Regions from separate parts of the Homo sapiens genome. Here region 1 is linked to region 2. Evidence: promoter capture Hi-C in 16 types of primary human blood cells and fetal thymus (Javierre and others, 2016). All regions are on one chromosome and are shown on one strand. Each heading gives the region's core, a stretch centred on a gene start or on the middle of the fragment in contact. The rest is flanking DNA. Distances are from core to core; before and after follow the strand shown.

The links. Contacts are between HindIII fragments. The CHiCAGO score rates a contact against its expected background, and 5 or more counts as called.
Region 1: a contact is called between a fragment that was not itself captured here and the fragment with the promoter of ZNF501 in region 2, in 5 of 17 cell types (naive B cells, total CD8 T cells, naive CD8 T cells and 2 more). The highest score is 7.1, in naive B cells.

The regions. Positions count from the first base shown.
Region 1 is chr3:44,342,813-44,345,593 of GRCh38, reverse strand. All of the region lies in intron 1 of TCAIM (T cell activation inhibitor, mitochondrial), which reads right to left. Among named protein-coding and RNA genes, the nearest start is that of TCAIM, 5.4 kb to the right of the region's middle. The HindIII fragment of the contact is 1,143 bases long and covers 883-2,025 here.
Region 2 is chr3:44,728,341-44,731,137 of GRCh38, reverse strand. ZNF501 (zinc finger protein 501) reads right to left here and starts at 1,503. Exons shown (of 3, transcript NM_001258280.2): 1 at 1,123-1,503. LOC105377056 (a long non-coding RNA gene) reads left to right here and starts at 1,612. Exons shown (of 3, transcript XR_940788.4): 1 at 1,612-2,346. RefSeq lists an enhancer at 1,623-1,692. The HindIII fragment of the contact is 3,071 bases long and covers 653-2,797 here.

The DNA of each region.
Region 1 (2,781 bases), core at 205-2,704, 390 kb after region 2:
GCTTTGTATTTCTCTTTCCTCCAAAATCGTGGAGGACTCGTTAGTCACTGCTAAAAAAAAAGGGGACTCTGTATATTAAACGAAGAGTGTTGTTTTTACCTAAATCAATCTGGCCTGGTATATGACAACATAAAAAAACTCAAAGATAGAGCCCAAAAACTTGCCAACCAAGCAAGTAATTATGCTGAACCCCCTTGGGCACTCTCTAGTTGGATGTCCTGGGTCCTCCCAATTCTTAAGTCCTTTAATACCTGTTTTTCTCCTTCTCTTATTTGGACCTTGCGTCTTCTGTTTAGTTTCTCAATTCATACAAAACCGTATCCAGGCCATCACCAATCATTCTATACAACAAATGCTCCTTCTAACAACCCCACAATATCACCTCTTACCACAGAATCTTCCTTCAGCTTAATCTCTCCCACTCTAGGTTCCCACGCCGCCCCAATCCTGCTCGAAGCAGCCCTGAGAAACGTCGCCCATTATCTTTCCATACCACCCCCAAAAATTTTCAGGGCCCCAACACTTTACCACTATTTTATTTTTCTTATTAATGTAAGAAGACAGGAATGTCAGGCCTCTGAGCCCAAGCCTGAACGTATACATCCAGATGGCCTGAAGTAACTGAAGAATCACAAAAGAAGTGAAAATGGCCGGTTCCTGCTTTAACTGATGACAATACCTTGTGAATTGAATTCCTTCTCCTGGCTCAGAAGCTCCCCGACTGAGCACCTTGTGACCCCCGCCCCTGCCCGCAAGAGAACAATCCCCTTTGACTGTAATCTTCCCCACTACCTACCCAAATCCTATAAAACTACCCCACCCCTAACTCCCTCTGCTCTCTTTTTGGACTCAGCCCGCCTGCACCCAGGTGAATAAAAAGCTTCATTGCTCTCTCCAAGCCTGTTTGGTGGTCTCTTCACACGGACGCGTGTGACAGTAATAAGGTCATTAGTGCCCTTATAAAAAGTCCTGTCCTCTGATCAAAACTATCAGAAAAAAGGAAAATTACAAAAAAGGAAAAAGAAAAAAGCCCCAGAGGGCTATCTTGCCCCCTACCATGTGAAGTTATAGCAAGACAACAAATCTGCAGACATCTTGATGTTGAATTTCCCAGACTCCAGAACCGCAAGAAATATATTTCTGTTGTTTTTAAGCTATCTGGTTTATGATAGTTTGACACAGCAGCTGAAGACTAAGATAGTATCCTTAATGACTTTTAATCATGGAGGATAAAGTATGTTGTGTGTAAGATGGAATTATGTAGCACATTTCAGAAGCATTTCAGAAGCATTTCTGAGGCTCGGTATGGTGGCTCATCCCTGTAATCATAGCACTTTGGGAGGTGAAAATGGGCAGGAGTTCAAGACCAGCCTGGCCAACATGGCAAAACCCCATCTCTGCTAAAAATACAAAAATTAGCTGAGTGTGGTGACACACGCCTGTAATTCCAGCTACTTGGGAGGCTGAGGCCTTGAGCCTGGGAGGTGGAGTTTGCAGTGAGCTGAGATTGCACCACTGCACTCCAACCGGGGTGATGGAGTGAGACTCTCTCAAAAAAAAAAAAAAAAAAGCATTTCCATCAAAAATAATCAAAGCAAAATAAAATTTGTGTAAAGTTCAAGGTCTTTAGTTATCCAGAAAAATACATTCATCCACTAATCGCTTTGTAATCACAGAGTATAACTAAACTACTACTGAGAAATGACTAATAAAGGACATTAGTGCTTAGAAATGTGACAATAGATTTTCTCAACAAAAATAAAATGTTACCAAATACAAATCTAAACATTAAATCATGGTTTCCAGATTTAGAAAGAGAGCACTAAAAAAATGACAGGTTGAGAATTAGGTGTTTTCTATCTGCTTATTTTGTGAGCAAGCTATTTCCTAAAAAGGTTTACATTTCAGTAGAGTAATAGAATTACAATCTAGGCCTCTGCTGTCTAAAACAGTAGGCAGCCACTAGCCACATGTAGCTACTGTGCACTTGAAATGTGGTTAGTCTAAATAGAGATGTGTTAAGCTTAACATACCCACTGGATTTAAAAGATTCAGTACAAACAATGGAAAGTATCTCAGTAATAATTTTTCATATTGGTTATGTGTTGAAATTATAATTTATTAAAATTAATTTCACTTTTACTTTTTAAAAAGTAAAACATCTAGTTTTTAGAAAATTTTAAATTATATCCAAGGCTTACATTCTATTTTTATTGGATTGTGCTGATCTAAACACTTCCAGTGAATGTGACTGTCAAAGTAGGTAGTTTGCATAATGGTTAGGAAATGGAGGCTAGGGGGCTTGAGATTTGTATTCAAATCTTGACATCTTCAGTGACTGTGTGAGCAAGGGCAAGTTACGTTACCTTCTGGAGTCTGTTTCCTCATCTCTTAAATAACATAGATGGTTAAGAAAAGTCTGTTGTAACACCAAAACATTTCTTCTTTTTTTTTTTTGAGACAGAGTCTCGCTCTGTCACCTGCGCTATAGTGCAGTGGCATGATCTCGGCTCACTGCGACCTCTGCCTCCCAGGTTCAAGCGATTCTCGTGCCTCAGCTTCCCGAGTAGCTGGGATTACAGTCGCCTGCCACCGCACCCAGCGAATTTTTGTATTTTTAGTAGAGATGGAGTTTCTCCATGTTGGCCAGGCTGGTCTCGAACTCCTGACCTCAGCTGATCCTCCTTCCTCGGCCTCCCAAAGTGCTGAGATTACAAGCCTGAGCCACTGTGTCCAGCCTTAAAATGTTTATTTAATGTGAATCAGCTTATATGCAATTGG
Region 2 (2,797 bases), core at 254-2,753:
CAATAGAGGGCAGTAGGACCAGTAATGGACTCAGTCAAGAGGTGTGGATTCTAGTCTCAGCTCTGCCACCAATTTGTTCAATGACCTAACACAGGTCACTCAGTCTCATCCATTTCTTATTTGTTAAATGAAATTGAAAAGCTAGATAATATTTAAAGCTTCTTGTAATATCAACATTCTACAAAGCTTTGATTCTATATACAGATGGGAAAAGAGCAAAAACCTCAAATCAAGCCCTTCCAGTCCATCTTTGATTGAATCTGTTTATTCATTTATTTGAAAAGTACTAAATGAGCTAGCCGTGAGGTGAATGGGTCTTGTTAAGAACGGGCTGAATCAACAGCAGGGAAACTTCCTGTCAGTTATCCTCCTACAATTAGAATTGGGGGAATTTCTCGAAAATAACAAGAGGATTGCCTTTGTGTAAGGAGTATCTGCTGTAAGATGTTAAGGACTCTTCATAAGGGAAAGGTTTCAAGAACCCTCCTAATGCAAAGAACACTGTATTCAAAGGCAGGAACCTGGTTTCCTGTCTAATACATCCCAATCCACTAGCATCTCTTAACTGACACTGAACAAACTGTTTAATTATTTTCAAACGTCTCTTTTATTTCCTCATTTGGTCAAATAAGCCAGCAATTATTTTCAAGCTTGCAGTCAACCTTTAATATTTAGCTCAAATGTGAAACTTCACACCTCTTCCTTGTGGGAAAATTTTGACTTTTCCAAGGCCCTTCCTCGTCTACATTCTCAAAGAATTTTACAAGTTTCTACTGTAGGACTTTCTAGTCTGATTACATTCTGTCTTCCACCAGCAAACTTACAAGTATGGCATGGGCTCCAGGACTAGGACTTTTGAACAAGTTACCTAACCTTTTTTTGCTCCAGTTTTTTCAACTGTTAAATGGAGACGATACCAGTAACTACTTTATAGGGTTGTCGTAATGAATAAGTGGGTTACTACATGGCAACTACTTAGAAGAATGCCAGCTGGTAAGCATTCAATAAATAGTGCCTGCTGTTAAAGTATTGAGTCTACATGTCTTCATACGGTACCTATTTTGTTGTTGTTAGAGAAGAATAAATAATGAAGGGAAGGCACTAATTCTTGCATATACTTACTTCAACCCGCACAACTTTGGGAAACGGCAAGGCAGGAAACAGTATTTACTTCTGGAAATCAGAAAACTAAAGTGCCCAGAAGTTCACTGACATGCTTAAGTATGTATAAATCGAACCCAGGTCCTCCGACTCCCAGCCTAGGGCTCTCGAACAGCCTCTCCTTTCTTCATGGCAAGTTTGCCCTAGGCCTCGGGCCTCCGCTCCACAGGCCCTCCAGGAAGAAAAACGCCCTGCTTCCCGAGGGAGGAGCTGGAATCGACCCGCGGCAGCCGGGCACAGCAGAAACCGCTCACCATGCGCTTCCCGCGGCGCTCCCCGCGGCGCTCCCCTCTCGCACCTTGCAACACTCAGGTCCCTGGGTGCTGCCCTGCGGAAAGGAGTAAGTCCCGGACGCGCCCAGCCGGCGTGACGTCAGCAGTCCGCGCCTCGGCTAATAACCACTACCGTCTCCTCTCTAGGAAGGTGGGAGCGGCTTCCGCTCGGTGGTTCCTTCCCGCACGCAGCTACGGGTTTCGGTGCTGCGCCGGTTAAGCCGGCACCAGAAACAACCTGCGACCCCACCTGGCGTGCGTCTTCCAGCACAGGGAAACGGGATGGAAGTCAGAAGGGTCGACCACAAGGAGCTCTTACTGTGCATCAGTTCATCCTGCAAGTCCGCCACATTTAGCTTCCTATGTTACTGTCCTTTGGGGATTCTCAAGGCTTTTCACAAAACTGGCTTCCACCTTCCTCACACACATCCTCATCTGGAAGAAAACTGACCTCTTCACAGAAACCCCTGACACCTTACTGACCCAGGATCTTTGTTCAGGTGGCCAAAAGAAAAAGTTCTGCAGGCCAGGCGCGGTGGCTCACTCCTGTAATCCCAGCACTTTGGGAGGCCGAGGCGGGCGGATCACCTGAGGTCAGGAGTTCAAGACCAGCCTGCCCAACATGGAGAAACCCTGTCTCTACTAAAAATACAAAAATCAGCCGGGTGTGCTGGTGGGCGCCTGTAATTCCAGCTACTCCGGAGGCTGAGGCGCGAGAATCACTTGAACCTGGGAGGGGGAGGTTGCAGTGAGCAGAGACTGAGCCACTGCACTCCAGCTTGGGTGATAGAGTGAGACTCTGTCTCAAAAACAAAACAAAACAAATCAAACACTGCTTTGGGCTCAAATCCCTGATTCTCAGTGTATGAACTTTGCAACTTTACCTCTCTGTGCCTGCTTCCTCACTTACCAGGTATAATAATGGTACCACAGGGTTGTTGTGAGGATTAAGTGAGGTTAATACGTGTGAATTACTAAGAACATCTAGTATTTTTTAAATCTTCAGTAAATGTTAGGACTATTGTCTGTGTCTCAAATCCCAGCTCCAGTACCTATTGTTCTGCCCTGACTTCACTGACCTTTCAGGGCCTCAAGGTAGCACACCCATCCCTTTCTACAAAACTTCAGATCTTGCTGGCTCTAACTCAGGAAATATTTGCACACATGGGCTCATCTTGACAGGTAAAGTCCAGAGATAAAGGCATGAGTGGAGAGTACCTTATTCACTTCCAAGCATTCCTACTGATCTGCAATCTCAGGACAATAGGGCTGTGTGCACACCATCATATCCCTAGTGTGCAGCATATAGAAGTGAACACTTGCTGTATAAATTAATGAGATGCAGCAGAGAAATTATCCATTCC